Regions from separate parts of the Homo sapiens genome. Here region 2 is linked to region 1. The links are contacts of gene promoters, found by promoter capture Hi-C in human tissues and cell types (Jung and others, 2019). All regions are on one chromosome and are shown on one strand. Each heading gives the region's core, a stretch centred on a gene start or on the middle of the fragment in contact. The rest is flanking DNA. Distances are from core to core; before and after follow the strand shown. Region 1 holds the start of ULBP3 (UL16 binding protein 3). Region 2 has its middle 110 kb from the start of IYD.

Region 1 (5,843 bases), core at 2,440-4,939:
TTAATTTTTTTTGTATTTGTTTCTTTTAGCGACTACAATATGCTTTATTGTTCTTAGAAAGGACTCAGGGTTTGGCTTTAAATCAGGCTGCACGCTTTTCATCAGTCTCGCATCGCTCTCCCCATGCCAAGCTGGCTCTAGCTAGCAATGTCGCATTAAATCCCAGGGCAACCTTCAGGAACTTCCAGAAGCCTCCCCTCTCCTGACCCCCTGCAGTCCAAGACCCCCATATTTGCCCACACCCCTGCTTAGGGTCCAGCCCTAGAACTCACTGCCCCGCCCCAACCTGCCCTGGACCAGCCTGGCAGCAGGAGCAGAGGCTGGAGGCAAACACCCAACTTCGCGCCAGCACCTGTGCCACTGGGGACCAGGAGCCCAGGGTGTGACACACCCAGAGGAAGCAGAGAGCCGCTGCGTGAGTCACCCTGGCCCTCAAGGCTGTCACAGCTCCAGTAGCCCTGCCCCGCCCACTTGCAACTCCAGGCCATGGGGCAGGAAATGCTTGAATCCTTGCTACCTCTCAGACCCCAACCCTTCTTTTCTCCTCTTTCCTCCTGGCCCGGTTATCTTTTCCCATTTCCATTCCCACTTTCAGACTCGTTCTTTCTTTGCTTAAAAGGCAAGTATTTCAGCCATGCGCGGTGGCTCACGCCTGTAATACCAGCACTTTGGGAGGCCAAGGCGGGCGGATCATGAGATCAGGAGTTCGAGACCAGCCTAGCCAACATAGTGAAACCCCATCTCGACTAAAAATACAAAAAACTAGCCGGGCATGGTGGGGATGCCTGTAATCCTAGCCACTCAGGAGGCTGAGGCAGGAAAATCGCTTGAACCCGGGAGGCGGAGGTTGCAGCGAGCCTAGATCACACCACTGCACACCAGCCCGGGCGATAGTATGAGACAACGTCTCAAAAAAAAAAAAAGGCAAGAAAAAGACAAGATTTTCCTGGCCCTGGTGCACTCTAGGCTCAGTCAAACCAACTGAAGACAGCAGTTTGCTGTCCGTCATCACACTATGTTTTCTAGAAGATTCTATCCTGATGAAGCACCCCCCAGACTGGTTGAAAACCAAAGTTACTCTTCCTTGGAAAATCTTTGTGGACACCCAGGTGGAGATTCAAATTTCCAAGTTGGGGCCAGGCGAAGTGGCTCACGCCTGTAATCCCAACACTTTGGGAGGCCGAGGCAGGCAGATCACCTGAGGCCGGGAGTTCGAGATCAGCCTGGCCAACACGGTGAGACCCTGTCTCTATTAAAATTGCAAAAATTAGCCGGGGGTGGTGGCAGGTGCCTCTAATCCCAGCTACTCGGGAGGCTGAGGGAAGAGAATCGCTTGAACCCGGGTGGCAGAGATTGTAGTGAGCTGAGATCGTCCCATTGCACTCCAGTCTGGGCGACAGAGTGAGACTGTCTCAAAAACAAACAAACCGGAAAACAACAAATAAAACCCAACAACTAAAAAAGGCAAAAAAAAAAAAAAATTACCAACCTCGATGCTGCCACCTTCAGGCCGCTGGGGGTTACAACCTCCGCTCCAGCTCCCCTCTGAACCTGTGCTATTCTTCTGAGTCCCATTCACTCCCACAACTGTCTCATTCATTCACTGGTTCACTCAGCTTCCAACCACCCTTACATCACGTCAGGCTCACCAGGTGATGGAGAGAAAAATCATCCTCTGTGGGTCTGAAAAACATGCCTGAGTCTTGATGGTGGGTCTTGTTTTCATTTCCTCCCCATCACAGCGCCCCCAGGGCCATGAAGAGGCCATGGCCTGGGCTCAGAGATCCAGCTCTCCTCAGGGTGGGCCTGGCAGTTGCTGACTTCAGGGAGAGCTGGAGGCCTCACAACTGAAATAGGAGACCTGCCCTGGGTCCTTAGCATGTGCAAGGACAGGGTTCCTTGTAGAATCTGCTCATTTCATCTGTGTTCATAGCATTTGTCATTTTCCACATGCAGACATCCATTCCTAGAAAGCTGAAGAAGCTTGCACAGGAATATTCAGCCACAATATCAGCTGACTTCCATATCTGAATGCATGATCTCTAGATCCCGGCCATTACAATAACATTTGGGCCACTTCTATCCCCATCCTGGGCAGGCCTGAGTCTGTTGGCCAGATGCCTGCAGCAGGGGTGAGTCAGGAGGGCCCAGGTGTGCACAAAAGCCCCTCCTCCTGTCCTGCTTGGGGCTCTCCTGCCAGCCTCCTTCTACCTTCCTCCTGTTCCCCCAGTCACTGGCCCAGGTCACCTGGCCTCGGGGTGGTGCTGCCAGGGCCTTCCCAGAGGCCTCCTCCCAGGACTAACCTGGGCTCCTGCCCCCAGCCCTGTACATGGGAGGCTCTTCTCACACACAGATCCTGGGACCCGCCAAGCTCTGCCCCTCCCAAATCTGAGAACTGCCCACCCTTGTGTGTCTGTTGTCCTCCAAACTACCCTCCACATGGCCCCTCCTGCACAGGGGCTCTAGTGCATCAGGCCAGAATCTTCTAGGCTCCTGTGTCCCTGCTCAGTCACAGAGGTGGCTGCCCTCCCATGACTCTGTCCTGAAGCAGAAACAGGCCCTGGGCTTTGTCCAGGCCTCCTCCTCTTTCCCACAGCCTCAGGACCCTCGGGATTGATGATCACCAGGTGCAGGTGATCCCAACATGAAGACTGTACGGAGTGGGAGGTCTGTGCCGATTTTTCTCATTCAATAGGGAATGGGCTGAGTGGCTGGGGCCTGAGTGGCACTCAAGATCTCTGTCCACTCCTCATCCCAGGCTAAAGCCCTCCCTTGCGGCCAAGGGCCACTGGGCCCATCACCTCCCTCTGGCTTCTGCCCACAGATCTAGATGTTTCCATGGTGACTGAGACGAGGATACACTCGGGTTGCCGCTTTGAGGATGGCTGCAGTCACCATCCAGGGACAGGGCAGAGATGCGCGTGCAGCCATGGATTTGCGTGTAGCTGGCCACAGATGGGTGTACAGCAAAGTGAGCCCCACGCATGCGTAGACCCTCCCTCGGCTTCTGCTCTCCATGGAAACACAATTGATCATTTGATCACTGATCACGGTAGGCCACTAGGGCTTTCTTTTCTTTCTTTTTTTTCCCAGAAGTCATAAAGGGATATAGAATATACTTTATTCTATATATATTCTATATATTCCTCATGCTTTTAGTGGAGAGGCAAAGAAGGTCTGCTCCGGACTGGGAAGCAGCTGCGCCCTGGACGGAGAGGGGCGGGGACTCCTTGGCGCAGGCTGAAGGAGGGCAGGTGTCGCTGGCGGAGGCAGTGACGGGGGGACACAGCCGCCACTGGATATCCCTGTGCAAGTTTCTTCGCTTTCCTGTGCATCAGTGCTTACATTGGGGTAATAATAAATGGTGTGTTAAAAAATTAAATGAGGCGGTCAAGAAGGAATCGTGTCCTGGCCCGCGCGGAGCCTGGGGTGGAGGGTAAGGGTTGGCCAGAGGGGGCCGCTGTCAGGCCACGAGCCCGGGGCGGGACGAAGCGGAGCCACAGCAGGCATAGGCTCCCCGGGTCCCAGCCTGGGGTGGGGCGGGGAAGGGCGGGACGGGGCGGGATAGGGCGGAGCATCCCTCCAAACGTGGGCAGGCGTAGGCTCCCCTGGATCCCGGGGCGGGACGGGACCGGACGGGGCCGAGCACACTCAATCACTAGCTGGCATGCGAGGGCCGAAGTGATTCATACGCTGGTCTCCACATCGACTGCGCCTTGTGTCCCGGGCGCTCCTGGTCTACAATGGCAGCGGCCGCCAGCCCCGCGATCCTTCCGCGCCTCGCGATTCTTCCGTACCTGCTATTCGACTGGTCCGGGACGGGGCGGGCCGGTGAGTTCGGGGATGGAGCCTAAGCGGGGCGGGGGCCAAACCTGGGGGGCTGTGGACTGCAGCGGGTTTCAGAGGAGGGAAGCCTTCTAGAAGGACCGGCGCGATCTCCCCGGACTGCCCCCACGCTCAGTTCCGATTCGCTGCTCTTTTTCGCCAGGTCCGCTTCCTGCGGCTGCTGCTTGCCCTGCAGAGCAGGAGGGGGGTCAAAGAAGGCGAAAAAAGAACCGCAGGAGGGTGGAGGGGCCAAAAAGCTGCAGAGGGCGAGGTGGGGAGGGGATCCCTGGTGCAACCCCGCAGCCCCACTCGTCCTCGGGAAGGAGAAACCAGAGCCCCCGGAACCCGAGCTGGGGTCAAGACATGGGTGACGCCAGCGTCATATAGAATAGTCACTAAGCAGACAGGAGTCAGCAAACCCTTTCTAGAAAGGAAAGGCTGAAGGCACTTTGGTCCTTGCTGGCCGTGAGTTCTCTGTCTCTGTGTCAAGTCCCGTCCCTTTGTAGAGCAACAGCAGGCAATGGCAACCTGCAAGTAAAAGAGAAACCTGAAATGGACCCTGTCCTAGGTTGCAGACTCCAGATGAGGGCACATGCTGTGTCCTGGCAATTGCTGCCCCATCCCCTAGGGTGTCATCTCTAAGTTGTGTAAGTTGAAGAGTCACAAGTGTGTCCTACCCTGCCTGTGGCTTCTGGGAGGTGTGGATGTGATGAATGTGAGGGGGAGTCCCATGGTTCGGGGCCTACTGCTCCCCTCCTTTGTTGCTGAGTAGCATTAACGGTCCCCAGGGGCCATTCAGGGACCCTCCCTGAAGCCTCAGGTGTGACCTGAGGGTGGGGGGGTGTAGCCATGTGGTGTCCTGGGGATCAGAGCCAACTGCTTGTGCAGCTTCTTGGTTCCCTGTGGCCCTGCTCCTGCCCATCCCAGGAGACCCACCTGTGTCTTCTCACTGTGGGGCCTATCTTCCTAATGACCTAAAGGGTGAGGAGCACACCCTGTGATGGGCAGCTCTGAGGCTGTGTGGTCACTGCCCTCCCATAGCTGGAGGCCCATCTCCACAGGGGCCCAGGACCACAGCAGGAGCCACTTTTAAATGAGGGGATTTCACTGCTGTGAGTGGCACAGCTTTGCTTCTGAGCACTAGGGGACCCTGTTGGATTCTGTGGTTGGGAATAGCCATGAAATCCACATAGCACCTTTTCCAACCACACATGCTTCTGGGATCTTAGGGAGTCCAGGGTCAAATAGCTGTAGTGGCAGGTCCAGCCACACCCCTCATCACAGAGTGTGTATGGCTGCATCCCAGCTATAAGAGCAGAGTTGAGTAGTGACAGGGGAGGTCATATGACCAGCACAAACTATAATAGTTACTACATTAACTACAAACACTATCCATTCCCGGTAGAAATCCAGGAAATGTGAAATTACCATTGAATGGGTCTATGAACCCAGCACATCCCTCTAAGCTGGACCTGACACAGAAGTCCATCTGTTACTTTGCCCCAAATGCACCTCATGAGTAACAGGGGAGCAAGTTAATGCTTCACATCCCTGGGAAGAGCTCGGATCACACACTGTGTCCACTAGGAGTGTCTGAGTATTTGCTGTTTCATGGTGTACAGTTACCAGAGTGACTACCCATCTGGCTCTGTGGGGGAGGCTGAAGGAGTCATTGCAATTGCTGTGGGGTTGAAGGAGCCCACCAGGGGCTCTGGGCTCTCCTTCTAGTAATGGACTCTGCGTCTGAGATGTGGCTCAGTTCTCAAAGCTGGGCGAGGGAGCTCAGTTATTTCCCGGGGTGACAACTTTCAGCCTCCTGGTCATCCATCCTTGCATTTTGTCTTTGTGGTAATTATTTAAATCTAGTAGTATCCGGGTGGAGTCTCCATCTCTTTTGGATCTTGGACCCTTTTGTTCTATGAGCCATGGGCATAGCTTTGTAAGACTGAGGACCCCAGCTAGCATTGTGACTTCTCTAATTATTTCCATCATTGCACCCTCCTTCCTGCTGACAGTTG
Region 2 (5,843 bases), core at 1,436-3,935, 190 kb before region 1:
GAATTGCTTGAGCTCAGGAGTTTGAGGCTACAGCGAGCCATGATCATACCACTGCACTCTGGGCAAAAGACCAAGACCCTATCTCTAAAAAAAAAATTACTGAGTAATTTTTAGCTCTTAATTGCAGGAAGCTGGAGTCTTTTAGGGATAATATGTGGATTGCTGGAAAGAAGCTCCACATTTTCTGGTGTCTTTTTAAATGATTATGCATAAAGTGATGAAGTTTTTTAAAATCAACTGACTTTTGCTAATTGATTTGGAGGAAGGGTCAACAGGGGGGAAGCATCCTCTATCTCTTCTGCAAGACCTCCTCTTATATTATAGGAGGGAACATCACTTCCATAAGGTCTGGAGGACCGGGAAATGCCAGTCAGCATCTTTATTAAATACCATGGACAGGTGGAGGCAGATTCAGGGGAAAGGTAGAATATCCAGGGGTGGTGAGAAGCAGGCGGTGGTGATTTAAGAGAGAAAGCAGACTCTGCACCTAGTAGCAATCTCAACAACAAAGACACATCAAGAAAGGAAAAAAATATGCACCCTGAGACAGCATGGGAAGAAACAGTAGAGCAGGTGCTTCCAGACAAAATGAGCAGATTATAGCTAACAAAGAATGGTGAGACCTGCAAATAAAGCCTCAGGGCCAGGAGCAAGAATTCTGCTAATTGGAATACAGAATTTAAGAGGTGAACACAGCACACAGCCCCAAAGGGACTGACTACAGGTTTAATTAAAGATGATCTTCCATAACCTTGTCCTTGATTTAACAAACAGTGTCTCTGAGAAATGCTTGAAAAAAAAAAACATGTGTGCCTCCGTAGGTGGGTTTCTTGTCCTCTGAATCTTAGATATGGTGGGCCATTTTCCCACCTATAATTTGGCCCTCTGGGATGGCTATTGGATTTAGGATTCTTGCTCAACTACCACTCCCACTCCCTGGCCAAATATGACCCCAAGAGGGAGAAACAATAAAAACACATTTCAATATCAAAAAGTAGAAAGTGTAACACAGAGACGACAAAGATACTTTAAAATTTTTTATTTTTCCAGATCCTTCAAACTCTTGACTATGGAATGTGAGAGCTTGAGAATTCTGGGGTACAGACACTTGTCCTAGGGGACAGATGCTCTATTCCTGCTTCTAGAGACATCTAATCATGGCGTCACAGACTTAAGGTGTGCCGTCAGCTTCACTGAACTTCTGCTGGTTTCACACTCATGGTTTATCAGATCAGATGAATGATAGAAACAGCCCCAGAAGGACGAACAGGAGAAAAAGGAAGAAGGTCCTTAGTGGTCATTACTTTTCAAACTGGATATGAGCAAGAAAAGTATTCTAAGTAACTGCATGCAGGATCTTCCTAATTAGGTAAGAGTAGTAAGGTGCTTTATGTATCTATGCACTTATATACACATGAACTCTAATCTTGCTGTTGTTTACATTTTACAGACGAAGAAAACAAGGGGCAGATACCTAAGTCAGCACTGGGAACCACATAGAAAGTAAAAGCAGAGCTGGAGCTAGATTCAGATTTTTTTTTTTTAAAGATAGAGTCTTACTCTGTTGCCCAGGCTGGAGGGCAATGGCATGATCTCAGCTCACTGCAACTTCCACCTTCTGAGCTCAAGTGATTCTCCTGACTTAGCCTCCCCAGTAGCTGGAACTGCAGCTGTGTGCCATGGTACCTGGCTAATTTTTGTATTTTTGGTAGAGATGGGGTTTCACCATGTTGCCCAGGCTGGTCTCAAACTCCTGACCTCAGGTGATCCACCTAACTCAGCCTCCCAAAGTGCTGGGATTACAGGTGTGAGCTACCTCATCCAGCCCTAGATTCAGATTTCAAGATCACTGCTCTTGACTGACTGACTGATCGACGGATTCATTGATTGGCACCACATCTTTGTAGCTACTTAAGTTTCCAGACTAATGAACATGACCTTTCCCCTGTATGTGTTCACACTGTGCCAAACCTTTTCACATTAATTGCTCATTTGAGCCCTTCTACTCTGTGGAATTGTCAGGGTAAGTGTTCTTAAGTTTATAGATAAAGAGAATCCCAAGAAGGCCAGACAGATTAAATCACTTGCTCAGACACCAGGCTGGGCTATAATAGGCCCAAGTATTCTTTTCACTCTGTCAGTCTCCCGTAGTCCACTAGAGCCCCACAGAAAATCACAATGAAGACCATACCCTACTCCCCTGCCCCTAACCCCCTTGCAATGTGTTCTGGGCAAGACCCTTCCCTGCAATATATTTGCATGGTTTGATTAATGTGTTCTGTGGAGGAAATATTCAGATCAGTGTACCTGAACCACAGACTGCTTAATCTAGCACCTAATTTAGGGCTTACCTTAATACATATATGATATATGGTTTGGCTGTGTCCCCACCTAAATCTCATCTTGAATTCCCACGTGTTGTGGGAGGGACCTGGTGGGAGGTAACTGAATCATAGAAGCAGGTCTTTACTGTGCTGTTATCGTGATAGTGAATAAGTCCCATGTGCTCTGATGGTTCTATAAGGGGGAGTTTCCCTGCACAAGCTCTCTCTTTGCCTGCTGACATCCACATAAGATGTGACTTGCTCTTCCTTCCCTTCTGCCACGATTGTGAGGCTTCTCCAGCCATGTGGAACTGTAAGTCCATTAAACCCTTTTTCTGTATAAATTACCTGGTCTCAGGTATGTCTTTCTCAGCAGCATGAAAACAGACTAATACAATATACAAGATAAAATAAGAGGCAAAAGACATGATCACCCATGCCTCCCTATCCCAGGTAACAGTCTAACTTGGAGTCTAAGTTCCATGTATAAGCACTAGCTATACACAGTTTAGCAGAATTGGCTTTGTAATCAGATCACTGGCCTTGAAATAGAAGCTTTATCATCTACTGAATGTATGACCTTACAGTACTTACTCTCTCCAAGCCTCAGTTTCCTTATCTATATAATGGGAAAGACAATCCCCTCCTGAGGCAAGTGTAACTATGAAGATTCTGTGGACAATAAACTCAAGTGCACGGTACGTGGCACGGTAAGCGCTCAATAAAAGGTAGCTGATGGCCCCATTACTTGCGGTTTGAGCTTGCAGATTCTTTTCTTTTCCTTTCTCTTTCTTTTCTTCTTCTTCTTTTTTTTTTTTTTTTTTTTTTTTTTGACAGGCTCTCACTCTCTCACGCAGGCTGGAGTGCAGTGGCGCGATCACAGCTCACTGCAGCCTCAACCGCCGGGCTGAGTGATCCTCCTAGCACAGCCTCCCAGGTAGCTGGGATTATAGACACACACCACCATGCTGCTTAATATTTCATATTTTTTTTGTAGAGAAGAGGTCTTGCCATGTTGCCCAGGCTGGTCTCAAATTCCTGAGCTCAAGCAATCTGCCCACCTCGGCCTCCCAAAGTGTGGGACTATAGGCGTAAACCACTGCCCCCGGCTGGGAAGAGATTCTTGATTAAACCTGTGTGTAGTCATGTGAGCTGGACAGGCTGAATGGGTGCTGCATGGGGTCATCCAAAATTAATAGTAAGAGGGAGACTCCAGCTCTTCCTGGGCCTGTTCTTGCCACAACTGCTTTGGACCATTCTGCAGAGAAAAACTAAACCCGGCCCTTTTGTCAATATATTACAGAGGGAAGCCAATTCCACCCCGGCCCCTCATTCTTCAACATATTTTTATGGGTGTATTTACCACTCCACACTGTCAAGGGCCACCCTAATCCTTCCTGCTGGGGCTAGATAGTATTTTTGTCCAATTTTTTCACATTCCCCAGAGCCACCCTTGTAGATCAAGAGATTGGGTTCCCAGAGGCTGCACCTCAAGCCCTGTGGCTACTAAAACCTCATCCTGTGGGGGCCTGCTGACTTCATCACTTCTAATAACCTGAGCTCATTTCCTCAATGAGGAAAATCACTGGCACTACAGCTTGGCCTTGGGACCACAATTTAAGAAGAGTCGGGGCCAGCACTTTGGGAGGCCAAGGCAGGCAGGATTGCCTGAGTCCAAGAGTGAGACCAGTCTGGGCAACATGGTGAAACCCTGTCTCTACAAAAAATAGAAAAATTAGCCAGCATAGTGGTGCACGCCTGTAGTCCCAGCTACTCAGGAGGCTGAGGTGGGAGGATTGCCTGAACCTGGGAGGCAGAGGTTGCAGTGAGCCATGATTGCACATTTGCACTCCAGCCTGGGTGACAGAATGAGACTCCATCTCAAGAAAATAAAATAAAATAAAATAAAAGTCGGGAGAAAGATGGGGCTGCCACAGCATTATTACAAAAACCTGGAATGCGGCATCGTGGGCAAGCTTCATCCATCTCCTTGAGGAGACTCCTCTCTGACAGCTACAGGTAATTTGAAAGCTTTTATGAAGCCTTGGCTGGAAAACCAATGAAGCTTCCAAACTCAGGCAATGCAACAGAAGCGTCTAAACAGTTAGTCATAAAACATTCTTTCCTAATCCACAGAAGACATTAACATTTATTTTTCCAATTACCAATGAATAATCCTCAAGGGCTTTTCCCTAAAACTGACAACACAAAAATAATTACTCTCTTAGTAATGAAGTGGGTATCCAAGGGAGATGGTTGGGTTGATGAATGATGATCATTTTAAAGCTCCTTCATTTCTGCATGGTTTTTGCCGGATTAATCGTCATTGAAGGAACACTGAGTTTATTTGTTGTTGGCAACAAAATGGGAAATTCAGCTCTTGAAGGGTTTCTGCCTTCAGGCTCTGGCCTCATTAGAAACATGGCTTTCTCTGTTTCATCATATGGTTGAGTCATTCTTCATCTCAGGTGGTGAAAGGGTGAGCGGTACTTAAGCAACAGCAGTTTCTGTTCCTAAGGTTAAATGTGCAACCTACTTTCTCTGTACAATATCCCTAAGAAGTATCGTTAGTGTTTCTTCCAAATAAAAAGCGTAAGTTAAGGAGCAGTATCTTGGATCAAATGACTCTCATGATAAGACACGAGGAAAAAGAGCAACTGCCTTCCTTCTAAAAGTTATATTTTAAAGATTTTACATTTCCAGCCCAAATAAAATGCAATAGCTTTGTTTCCTTGCACAGCTATGACACAATAAAGAATGCACAAAGTGTTTTGTTAAGGAACAGGGCATCATTCTTACTCTTCCCGCCTTCATTTCTTCCTGGAGATAAGACGACAAAATATGGACTTTCCTCCCATCCATTGCTCTGTATTGCATGGCAGTATTCACATGTCTGTCTTAATTTGTTTGTCTGATAGCCTAAACAAGATGATGGAAGCATAAGGGAGTGGGTTAGGGCATTGGCAATTGAAGTTGACGTGATGCTGAACGGGTTGGAGGCAAAGTTACACCAAGGGCTTGTAAGCATGAGAACCCACAGGCGAAGCAACCCAACATGGAGTGCAGGGAGGAAGAAGAGAGCTGGAACCCACCTCCTGAACAAGCCAGTGTGTGCCTGTGAGCGGGTGGGGATGGGCCCGTGCAAGGCTCGCTGCCAGGCAGGCTGTTACTTGCTGCTGGGGCGGTGTCCTGGGGAGAAGTGATCATCTATGGAAGGAATTCAGCAGAGTGGATGATGTGGGAATGAAGGAGACCAGGAAATCCGATCAAGGTGAAGGCTGAGCCTGAGGATGGGAGGCAGAGCTTGACCCTGGCTATTCCTGGGACACCCGAGCCCTGGCTCCCTGGGTGGCTGCAGTCTCCTGTGGGCCTGGGCTCCAAGGCTCTGGGTCCTGGCTCTTCACCTGTTCGAGGTATGGACACTTTGAGACCCCAATGTGGCATGGACCCTCCCACACATGCTCATGCCTGTCTGCTACTCTCTGGCTCTCTTCATTCCAGCATCCTGTCTTGGGATCA

The links. The method cuts DNA at HindIII sites, captures the fragments that hold promoters and counts their contacts. A contact is called where the count stands out against the background at its distance.
Region 2: a contact is called between a fragment that was not itself captured here and the fragment with the promoter of ULBP3 in region 1, in 1 of the 25 tissues and cell types used here (neural progenitor cells).

Annotation. Positions count from the first base shown.
Region 1 is chr6:150,066,967-150,072,809 of GRCh38, reverse strand. ULBP3 (UL16 binding protein 3) reads left to right here and starts at 3,689. Exons shown (of 5, transcript NM_024518.3): 1 at 3,689-3,831. The coding sequence starts at 3,744. LOC124901428 (a long non-coding RNA gene) reads left to right here and starts at 2,537. Exons shown (of 2, transcript XR_007059809.1): 1 at 2,537-3,052; 2 at 3,160-3,382. RefSeq lists enhancers at 1,800-2,667, 3,865-3,944, 3,965-4,014. The HindIII fragment of the contact is 17,553 bases long and covers 1-5,843 here.
Region 2 is chr6:150,255,666-150,261,508 of GRCh38, reverse strand. No RefSeq gene overlaps it. Among named protein-coding and RNA genes, the nearest start is that of IYD, 110 kb to the left of the region's middle. The HindIII fragment of the contact is 3,375 bases long and covers 998-4,372 here.